Regions from separate parts of the Homo sapiens genome. Here all the other regions are linked to region 3. The links are contacts of gene promoters, found by promoter capture Hi-C in blood cells and fetal thymus (Javierre and others, 2016). All regions are on one chromosome and are shown on one strand. Each heading gives the region's core, a stretch centred on a gene start or on the middle of the fragment in contact. The rest is flanking DNA. Distances are from core to core; before and after follow the strand shown. Region 1 has its middle 59 kb from the start of MIR548AP. Region 2 overlaps AGBL1 (AGBL carboxypeptidase 1). Region 3 holds the start of MRPL46 (mitochondrial ribosomal protein L46). Region 4 has its middle 40 kb from the start of MIR548AP.

The links. The method cuts DNA at HindIII sites, captures the fragments that hold promoters and counts their contacts. A CHiCAGO score of 5 or more calls a contact.
Region 1: a contact is called between a fragment that was not itself captured here and the fragment with the promoter of MRPL46 in region 3, in 4 of 17 cell types (endothelial precursors, M0 macrophages, M2 macrophages and 1 more). The highest score is 11.2, in endothelial precursors.
Region 2: a fragment that was not itself captured here is called in contact with the fragment with the promoter of MRPL46 in region 3 in 1 of 17 cell types (endothelial precursors); the score reaches 6.3 in endothelial precursors.
Region 4: a contact is called between a fragment that was not itself captured here and the fragment with the promoter of MRPL46 in region 3, in 4 of 17 cell types (M2 macrophages, endothelial precursors, M1 macrophages and 1 more). The highest score is 19.9, in M2 macrophages.

The regions. Positions count from the first base shown.
Region 1 is chr15:85,883,498-85,886,197 of GRCh38, reverse strand. No RefSeq gene overlaps it. Among named protein-coding and RNA genes, the nearest start is that of MIR548AP, 59 kb to the right of the region's middle. The HindIII fragment of the contact is 623 bases long and covers 1,007-1,629 here.
Region 2 is chr15:86,232,709-86,235,408 of GRCh38, reverse strand. The region is part of intron 6 of AGBL1 (AGBL carboxypeptidase 1); the gene reads right to left. Among named protein-coding and RNA genes, the nearest start is that of AGBL1-AS1, 83 kb to the left of the region's middle. The HindIII fragment of the contact is 1,821 bases long and covers 434-2,254 here.
Region 3 is chr15:88,465,969-88,468,668 of GRCh38, reverse strand. MRPL46 (mitochondrial ribosomal protein L46) reads left to right here and starts at 1,281. Exons shown (of 4, transcript NM_022163.4): 1 at 1,281-1,519. The coding sequence starts at 1,292. MRPS11 (mitochondrial ribosomal protein S11) reads right to left here and starts at 961. Exons shown (of 6, transcript NM_022839.5): 1 at 887-961; 2 at 645-761. The coding sequence starts at 951. RefSeq lists enhancers at 1,111-1,280, 1,747-2,700. The HindIII fragment of the contact is 6,788 bases long and covers 1-2,700 here.
Region 4 is chr15:85,863,824-85,866,523 of GRCh38, reverse strand. No RefSeq gene overlaps it. Among named protein-coding and RNA genes, the nearest start is that of MIR548AP, 40 kb to the right of the region's middle. The HindIII fragment of the contact is 420 bases long and covers 1,222-1,641 here.

The DNA.
Region 1 (2,700 bases), core at 69-2,568, 2.6 Mb after region 3:
GCACCCACCACCATGCCCAGCTAATTTTTTTGTATTTTTAGTAGAGACGGGGTTTCACCACATTGGCCAGGCTGGCTTCGAACTCCTGACCTCAATCTGCCTGCCTCAGCCTCCCAAAGTGCTGGGATTACAGGCATGAGCCACTGTGTCCAGCCAGAAGTACTTATTCTTAGGGGAGTAGAAACATTTGACCTTCAGCCAGTCAGAGGCTAAAGGCAGCATGACTGGGGGTGGTGCTACTCAAAGGGTGGTCCTTATACATCAGCTTTACCTGGGAGCTGGTCAAAATGCTAATTCTCAGGTCTCACCCCAAACCTACTGAATTAGAACCTGCATTTTAATAAGAAACCCAAGTAATTCCTGTGCACAGTAAAGTGAGAAATGCTGGTCTAGGACAGGGATTCTCAGTGTGGTTTCCAGACCAGCAGCATCAGCATCACCTGAGAACTTGTTAGAAATGCAAATTGTCAGGCCTCACTTCCAGACCTCTGGGGAAGGGGCTCAGCACGTGGTTCTAATGAGCCATCCAGGTGACACTGGTACGCATTAAAGTTTGAGAAGCACTGATTTCAGAAACATCTTATGCATTTTGGAGACAGGCAATTCGGAGGAATCTCAGGAAAGGAATCCTGATTGCAGCTTGGAAGGAAGACCCAGAACACCGGCGCCAGCCAGCACCGTCTCCTGCTGCTCCAGCCTCCTGACACTCTTACCCACAGACAGCAGACCCAGAATCCAGGCTTCCCTTGCCAGCCCAGGAATTCCCAAGTTTCAGAGCTCAGCTGGTTGGAGGTCACTGCATTGAGTAGTGGCCGTTCCAAATTGGTACACCATATACAATCAAGCCAAACCCCAGAAGAAAACAGAACAGCCCAGATCTGTAATCCAGCCACCAGCTGAGGTCTCTCCACACTTAAGGACCAGATACTACCAGCTAGAACTTCACTCCTTGACCTGCGGAAACCCAGGATCCTCCCCCATGACTTCTGGGTGTTCTTAAAAAGCTTATTTCAGGGTCCCTTCTAGATTCAAGTTCTGCAGCTGAATCAAGTCAGCAGATGGACAACCTCACCCATCCTCACAGGGAGTCCCTTGCCCCATGGCATCAACCTGGATATGGGACCCAGCACATCTGTGGTTACTGTTTTATGAAATATATCCCACTAGGATTTTGAAGGTAGTACACTTTCATGAAGCCACTAGGGAAAGGGGCTCCAATCAAAGAAATACAAATCATTTCCAACTGAGTAGCAGCATCTCTATTCTTAAAAGCCCCAGAACCCACCAGAATGCTCTGACACCTTCCCCTCCCTATTGTGCTGAACCCCTGTAAACCTCAATAGAGAAGGCATCAGGTTCAAGAGGCTGAAGAGACCCAGAGCAAGCACATGAGACATAGGGCTTTATTACGGAGCTTACCTACAGAGAAGAGGGTCCAGTGGCTGTGGGTTTGACCCCCTTACCTGCAGAAATGGTCCAGTGGCAGCGGGCTGGACAAGATATCCATCTCATCTACGGCCCAGTGGTAGTGGGCTGGGCAGGAAAACCACAGCCACCTGCAAATAACATGTAGTTTATATAGCATTTTAATTTAACACCCTCTGCGTAATGACCTCCACCTGGCAAGCTTCATTTAACCCAAAACTCAGGGCTTCAATTCCCTATACAGCCCGTGTTCCATGGGGTAAGCTGTAGGCTCAGATGTTCATCATGGATAAGGAATGAATCTCTGGGTTGGCCACTCCCAGATTCCCTAGCTCAGAACACACATTCAGGTGTGTCTGCCATGCAGGGTCATTCTAAGTGTATGCTTAAATGATTGCTATTGGGTGCATTTACCCCACATTCCCCTCTGATCTTCTCTCTGCTCCTCTCTTCTTTACGCCCACATCATCAAATTTCTATTTATTTATAATACAAAGAAATTCGCGTCTTGACTCTCTATAAACTATGCTTTCAACATCTTACCTTCTATACCAAGCAGGATCTTTTCTTAAATATTTTCTTCTCTAAAAGGCATTCCCTTTATCAACTATATAAATACAGGAATAGATCCAAGGGATCTATTCTTCCTCTGCCGAAGCACACAGCCCCTCCTCCTTCCCAGGCACTCCTTTGCAGAGTCTTCATTACCCCACCTTGTCCCACTTTCTTAATCTAACTCTGAGATGTTTTCTTTTATAATAACTCGAGTTATTTTCTCTCCTTCCTTTGTCTGAGACCAAACCTCATTTCTGGGACTTCTATTGTACACAAGGCCATTAACCCCCATCACAGCCTGGAATTACATGTCTCTTATCTTTGGATCATTTCCAAGGCAGCTGGCAGCTTGATACAAAAGCTAAAGTCTGGAGATGTTTTTAATGTAAAGGCTGGGAATCCCAGAGGAAAGGAACTCTATCACAGAAACTCTCCTCTCCTTTCCATTCCCAACACCGGTCTCCTAGCTCAAGACTCACTCTCTTTTCCTCAACTATTACGATAGCTGTGTATGATTTCCCCAATTCAACCCCACCACACCTCATCACCACCAACTCCACCTTTTCCCCATTCATAGAGTCAGCCCCATCCTCATAAACCTTGAATGTTCCCAGTTGCTTATAAAACAGCACCAACCTTCCCAGCTCAGTTCTTGTACTAAAATAAGAAAGGAGTAGTGGGCTGGGTGTGGTTGCTGACACCTGTAATCCCAGCACATTG
Region 2 (2,700 bases), core at 95-2,594, 2.2 Mb after region 3:
ATTAACCTTTGATTCCCTAGAGTAAAACAAAACAAGTGCATGCGGATTGATTGAGCAGGGTTCAATCTGCACGCATTCACTTATTCACTGATTCCTTTGTTCATTTAGATAACTTACTCTGAGTGTCCACTCTATAAAACACATTAGAGTCAATAGCTTAAGAAATAAGGAAGAATGAATAAGAAATAAGAATAAGAAGAATAGCTTAAGAAATAAGAATAAAACAGAGTCCCCAGATCCGAGGCTCACATAGTCTAAAGTAGGGGGTCAGCAAATTGCCCACAGCCCGTTTTCATGAAGTTTTTCACTTCTTTATATGTTGTCTGTTGCTGTTTTTGTCCTATAAGGGAAGAGTTAAGTAGCTGTGACAGAACTGTCTGATCCACAAACCGTAAAATATTTACTATCATCTGGCGCTTTTACAGAAAAAGCTTCTTGAAAAAAAGACAGACTCTAAAAACAACCAGATATCATTCAACCCTCGGGGAAGATCTTGGGAGACAAATTTACATTTCATCAGGCTTTATGCCCTTATATCATCACTTCCTGAAACCTCCAGGACTTTTGAAATGGTGATGACAATAAAACAAGAGTTCATCTTTATTGAGATGTACCAAGATCCAGTACTGTACTCCCACTCTTTTAAACATCACCTTGTTTAAATCTTACCAATTATCTTTGGAGTGTACTGTTTTCCCTGCTTTACAGATGAGGGAAGTGTAGCACAGAGTCATTAAGAAACATGCCACAGTGGCCACAGTTCAACTCTACACAGTCTTTCCAGAGCCTGCACAGTGACCACTGAGCAAGTGCTATTCTCCACTGTGACTTACTCTTTTTTTTTTTTTTTTTTTTTTTGAGATAGAGTCTCACTCTGTCGCCCAGGCTGGAGTGCAGTGGTGTGATCTTCGCTCACTGCAACCTCCGCCTCCAGAGTTCAAGCAATTCTTCTGCCTCAGCCTCCCAAATAGCTGGGACTACAAGTGCATGCCATCACGCACAGCTAATTTTTGTATTTTTAGTAGAGACGGGATTTCACCATATTGGTCAGGCTGGTCTGGAACTCTTGACCTTGTGATCTGCCCACCTTGGCCTCCCAAAGTGCTGGGATTAGAGGCATGAGCCACCGCTCTCGGCCTTGTGACTTACTCTTTCGGAGTAAGAGTTCTGAGCTTACAGGGAACATACACCATTCTGCACACATGCCACCAAGCCACCTTGAGCACTTTTATACTATGGTCAAAGAAACAACATGGCTGAAACCTACAAGCAGATACACAGGACAGAGGAATAGCCCTTGAGATAGAACTAAGTCTTGACAGGATCTCCTGATAAAAGACAGCATCCTGCATGAGTGTAAGAACTAGGATTAGTGGCAATCACAACCCAACAATATCTTATGTGACCAAGAGTTTTGTCTCAAACAAGAAAAACTCAACACCACCATCCACAGCTGTGTTGGACCCAGAATGGGTGCCTGGGAACACCCTGGCCACCTTGGGAAGGTGGAATTATACTGCCCATCCTGCCTGCCAGTAAAATCCCAACTGGAAGCTGACCCTCCTCACTGGGTCAGGTTCAGTTCAATTGTTTCATTAGGTCTGTTAGTCCCAAGAGACTCAGAATTTACTTGACTAGGGCTGGAGGATGAGAACAATATTTTGGATCTTCCTCCAGGTCAAACTTCACTAGTTCTTCCTTCTTGCCACTGCATAGTAAGATTTAACACATTTTCAAACCTCCCAAGGAAAGTGTCAGCCCATTTTTTAAGTTGTAATCTCAAACAACAGACTGGGCTCTGAAAGAGTCCCTTGAGTATATTTACTTCAGAGGTTTTCAAACTTGATTTCTTCTGGCCCCTCAGGAACTTCTTTGGGTGTTTCTCAATGCCTATCAAGAGGCAAGGAAAGGGAGGGGCAAAGGACAAGTCATGCTGTCATTAATTGGGGTCTCCCCTTACTCCCCATTGTTTGCTTTATGCATGCAATTTCCCTCAAAAGATTTTATGTTCAAGAAAAAAAAAAAAAAGGTTTTGCTACTAAAGAATTTCTAATCTCCTCGCCTGGGCTAGCCCTCCCATGTTTGAAAAACCAAACTGAAGTCAAGTGTTTGATTTCAGTTTGATAATTGGTAAGATTTAAACTAGCAAAGAACTAGTTTAAAGTCACAGAGCCAATCAATGGCTGCATTGAACCCAGAGTCCAGTTTCCTGACTCCATGTGGAAGGTGGGAATAATCTTTGAAATATGAAGCTTTTCTCCTTTGGAAATGGTCACAACTGAGTTCAAATTTTAGCTCTTCGTTTACCATGTGTGGGATCTTGGGCAAGTCACTAACCTCTCCTGATTACACCTTCCTTGCATGTAAAATGGGGATCATAATATTACAGGCTCTAGTGAGAATGAGATGCCATGTGTAAAGTGCCTAGCAAGTGCTGTGCTCCGTAATTATTGATAGTCATTATTCAGTGCAGGTACTCTAATAAACACTCATTCTCTCCCTACTCCCTACCCTCCTTCCCACTTCGCTGAGGGCTGGCAGTAAAAGGTTCACAAAATATACTATGACACGGCATGAGGGCTACATGCAGGGCGGGGAGGCAGGAGGGCATTGTCCTTACATGGTGTTTTCCTGACCAGGCAAGGAAGATAACAGGTTATCAAAGAGCGAGAGGGGAAATGGGGAGACGTAACTACAAGA
Region 3 (2,700 bases), core at 32-2,531:
GAGCAGATTATGGTTAAAATGTTTGCATGTTTGTCTTCCCTCAAAGACTGTGAACTACTTGTGGGGAGGAATGATCTTTTGTATCTGTATTCACGGCACCTAGCATGGTGTCTCACTCATAGTAGATTCTTGGTAAATGTTTGTTAAATGGATGTGAAGTTAAGTGGATGTGTATACAGCATACAGAGGTGGTGGCACTGGTGGGAAGCAAGATGCCAGTTCCTAGGGCTGAGCACAAAACCCACCCTGGACCATCCGTAAGACGTGCAGGAACATCTGTTCCATCGCTAGCGCCCTCTACCTCCCCATTTTGTTTTGGAGGCAGGGAAGGTTATTGGTCTGAAAAGATCTCCATCTCAGAAGAAAAGAACGCTGATACATGTTATGGATATCTCACATTCACTCATTGATTTAACGAATGTTCACTGAACATTTACTCTGTACCACGGCTCATCTGATTCTCACAACCTCTCTCAGCATTATCCGCATTTTTAGATGAGAAGGCTGAGGCTCAGATTTATTTGCATAAGGTCCCACGGATAGCAAGTGACATAGCTGAAAATTCACTGGTTCTGACTCTGGAGGGTGTCGGGCAAGAGTCAGGGGTTGCGGGTCTCCAGAGGGCTGGTCCAAGTGGGGCTCACCTGAACTTGGTGTGGCTGGGAGCCGCGTTCTGTTCAACTTTCTGCTTGGCCGCAGCGTCTTGGAGCTGTCGAGCGCCTGTGCAGATGGTCCCGGCCGGCGTTCTGGCCACGACCCTGCTGGGAAGAAAAGCTCGGTGAGGGCCACGGCCTAACGGTCACTGGGGCCCGGGTGGCTCAAGGGACACGAGTAGGAGCATAGTCCTGGAGGTGGCGGTGGGCTCGAGGGGGCAGTCATTTGTTACCCGGCTGTCTGGGGCCAAGTCCAGGACCGCAGGAACCGCGACCCCGCGTTTCTCACAGCCTGCATGACTTGAATTGACCCCAGTCAGTTTCCGTCTGCAGCGACAGTCACAGCTGCGCCGGCGCCGGTACCATGAGTGCCTGTCGGGGAGGGGACAGAAGGGAAAGTCATCTACTCTTCATTAGGTCCACTGAATATTTTTATTTCCATTTAAATGCTCAATAAGACTTTCACTGTAGTTCACCAGGGGATTCTTTCCCTTTTTTAATGTTCTGAGATGGTGGGTCACCCCCTCCATATGCGAATGGTTCGTTCTAGCAGTTCCGGGACTGAGCTTTCCCCTAGTTTGCCGCTCCCGCGGCTGAGGGATCCCTGGGAGCCGCGGTGCATTGTGGGAGAACGAAAGATGGCGGCGCCCGTAAGGCGGACGCTGTTAGGGGTGGCGGGGGGTTGGCGGCGGTTCGAGAGGCTCTGGGCCGGCAGTCTAAGCTCTCGCAGCCTGGCTCTTGCAGCCGCACCCTCAAGCAACGGATCCCCATGGCGCTTGTTGGGCGCGTTGTGCCTGCAGCGGCCACCTGTAGTCTCCAAGCCGTTGACCCCATTGCAGGAAGAGATGGCGTCTCTACTGCAGCAGGTGGGACTGAGATGCAGGGTTCAGAGTGACGTTTATTCTGCGTGACTTTGAGCGAGTAATTTCACCTCTCTGAACTTAAGTATACGGTACTTATCCGCAGAATGGTACCTACCTTACTGACTTGGTTTGGTACATAGATGTTCAACAAAAAGTGGTTTCTTTTCATTGGCCGTGTTTATTGTCACCTTAGACAACTCTTTGGAGATACTCTACTTCTTGTTCATGCAACACAATAGGGATCCTGTGGTGAACAAGAATCGGTCCGTGTCACTAGGAGCTTACAAGTCTGGAGGGAGAAAGTCTTTGTGATGTGATGAATGTTAAGAAGGAAATACAAGAGGCGGTGGGCACATCTGTCAGATGCCTATGATAAGCCTACTCTGTTTTATCTCATGGGGCTATCTGTGTGAGGGGCAAGTGAGGAAGCATGGGCAAAAACAGTGTAGTGGCTGTGAAGGTGTGAGGTCGCTACAGAAAGTGTTTGAAGGGTGATATGTTTCCTCAGAATCCGAGATGTTTTTGTCTTGGTCTGTTGAGAACTATAAACTTCTCTTCTGTGCTTTTTGCTTGATTTATTCATTTACTCGCTCGCTTGACAAATATTTGTTACTCAACCTACAGATGTTCATTGTGCCCATACTATGCATCAGAGAGTATGTTAAGTGATAGAGATGCTGTAATGAATAAGGCAGAAGTAGCTCTGGTTCTCAGAGTACTTCAGTCTAGTTGAGTGAGGGGATCAGTCAGTAACCAAATAATCATACAACTAAATGCAGACCCTGATAAGTGTTGTTAAGGAAAACACAAGGCACTATAAGAGTGTTTAACAAATACATCACATTTTGATTTTATGGTGAGTGTCAAGGAATGCCTCAGACTTTCTGAATACAGGTTTTTCTCTTTATGAGAAATGTCTCTCTGAGACAGTCATATTTAAATTGAAATCAGAAAGATGAGTAGGACTCTCCCAGAAGAAAGAATGTGAGGAAAAACATTCTAGGAAGAAGGAACAACCTCTTGAAAGTCCCTGAACAGGAAAGTCCTTGGTGAGTGAGATTCTGATCAAAGACTGACATGACTGGATTGTGGTGAGTCAGCAGGCATTGCCCAACCCAGCTCTCTGTTTTTGTAGCACTCTTGACCCCCAGTGACATTGTAACATTTTTGGCAAATGTAACTCA
Region 4 (2,700 bases), core at 182-2,681, 2.6 Mb after region 3:
GTAATGGGACCACATGACATCATGTGCCGCCTGAAGTGATGTAACAGGAAGGATGCCAGATTGCCCTGGTAGTATTCTTGCCAAGATACTTAACCTGGATTAATAATCCAGAATCAGTAAGACAAATCCAGAGTGCTGGGCATTCTACAAAACACATGAACCGGACTGTTGAGAAATGTCAATGTCATAAAAGATCAAAAGCGGAGGAGGAGAGCTCTACAAAAAAGGTGACATGACAACTACATGAGGGTGTGATACTCAAATGGACTCTGTAGCAGGGGATTGAAAATTACTATAGGCCAGGCGAGGTGGCTCACACCTGTAATCCCAGCACTTTGGGAGGCCGCGGCAGTCGGATCATTGGAGGTCAGGAGTTCAAGAACAGCCTAGCTGACATGGTGAAACCCCATCTGTACTACAAATACAAAAAAATTAGCCAGGTGTGGTGGCACACGCCTGTAATCCCTGCTACTTGGGAGGTAGAGGCTGCAGTGAGCTGAGATCACACCACTGCACTCCAGCCTCTGCCACAGAGTGAGACTCCATCTCAAAGAAGGAAGGAAAGAAAGACAGAGAGAAAGAAAGGAAGGAAGGAAGGAAGGAAGGAAGGAAGGAATGAAGGAAGGAAGGAAGGGAAAGAAAGAAAATTATTGTAAAGAACATTGCTGGGACCGTTGGGGCAATTTAAATGTGATTATAAATTAAGTAATGTATCAATGTTAAGGTTCTTGGATATGGTGATGTTGTGGTTATATAAAGAAATGTCTTTATTCTTAGAAGACGTGTTGAATTATTGAGAGGTAAAGTGTCAGGGTGTCTGCAACTATCAAAGCTTTCATCCAGAGGAAGAGAGAGAAAGATGAAATAAATGTGGCTAAATGTGATAATTTGATGAATCCCAGTGAAGACCAAGAAGATGTTCATCTTCCAGCTTTTCTATAGGTTTGAAACTTTTCAGAGTGAAAAGTTGGGAGGATGGAAAAAGAAGTAAATAAATAAATGAATCAATTGAGTCAACAATTGAGATTCCTTTTCCCTAAGACCTTTATAAGCAGTTTGCTCACATTGATTCTGATGTGGACAGTTCTGGATGTAAAGGGGGCAGGCCTAGAATGAATGATCTTTCCTGGCGTCTTCCAGATTGCAGATGTACGTTTGGTTTGGTTTGGTTTGGTTTTTAATTTGGGAATTACAAAAGCAGCAGGGACCCTGTGCGAAGCTTGAGCGGCTGCTGCCATCTTGTGGATCTCAGCACTTCTGCAAAGTTGGAAACATATTCCAGGTCACTGCAGGCTAAGGAGCCCCCCTCCACAGCCTGGGAAGGAATGCCCTGGAGGTTAAAGGTGTAAGTACTTTTGTTAACTTCCTTCCAGAGTGAGTGACGATGCAGCCTACATCCTTCAGTGGGTTCTCTGGATGCACAGGGTCCTCCGCCTTTAAAGTCAGCAGGCCTGACAAAACTTGCATCGATTTCACTCTGCAAAATTCAGGCTAGGGAGCCATTGAGTGGGAATTTACTGACATTTGCACGCAATATTGACTTGTTGGCATTGTTTTCTTATTCATGAAGTCTCATAAAAATGATACTGGGCACTTCTGATACCAGCTTTTCAAACCTCTAATTGGTTCACAGACAAAGCTTTGAAAGCAGGTGTGGGAGGGTCACGATCAGAGACAGTGAGAAAGAGGAGGGAGTGGACTACCTTAGAAGGAGAGCGGGAGGAGGAGCCAGAAAAAAAACTAGCTTCTAGATTTTCTTTGCAGGCAGGGTGGATGTGGTAAGAAGCTCTGAGGACTTTCAGGCTAGGTGGACTTGGGTTTGCATTTCAGCACTGAGGTGCCACTTTCTGCTTGGGGCAGCTTAGACATCTCCTGGGGATTGTTATCTGAATGGTGGTGATAACACATAGGGGATTATGTTAAGGACTGAGGATGTTTTAAGGCAGCAGTTTTAAACTTGAGCAAGCCCCAGAATAATCTAAAGGGTTAAAACATAGATTTCTACCCCGACTCCTCCCCCAGAGTCTCTGATTCAGCAGGTCCCAGGTGGTCCCAAGCATCTGCATTTCTTTTTTTTTTTGAGACAGAGTCTGGCTGTGTTGCCCAGGCTGGAGTGCAATGGCAAGATCTCGGCTCACTGCAACCTCTGCCTCCCGTGTTCAAGCAATTCTCCTGCCTCAGCCTCCCAAGTAGCTAGGACTACCGGCACATGCCACCATGCCCAGCTAATTTTTGTATTCTTAGCAGAGATGGGGTTTTGCCATGTTGGCCAGGCTGGTCTTGAACTCCTGACCCCAAGTGATCCTCCCACCTCTGCATTTCTAATAAGTTCCCAGGCAGCGCTGATGCTGCAGGTCTGGTTACCATGCTTTGAGAACCATTGTTTTAAGGACTAAAATGGCATAAACATATGGTAAGCATGGGGTAGGTAGTCAACAATCAATCAGACCTCTGCCTGACACTTCCCAGGGCTCCTTCCAACACACCCCCTTTGAGTAGGCACAAGCATTTCTGAGACTGAGTATATCTCTACAAGACATGTCCTGGGTGTTTATCTTAGACATGAGATAAAGCAAAGTTCTCACAGTAGTGCAGGGAAAAGACCCACGTGGGCTTAGGCTGGGATTTCAGGCACTGAGTGGTGCGGCTCAGGCTTGGATGGGCACAGTTGCTTGGCCCCACCCTGTGCAGAGACGTTTG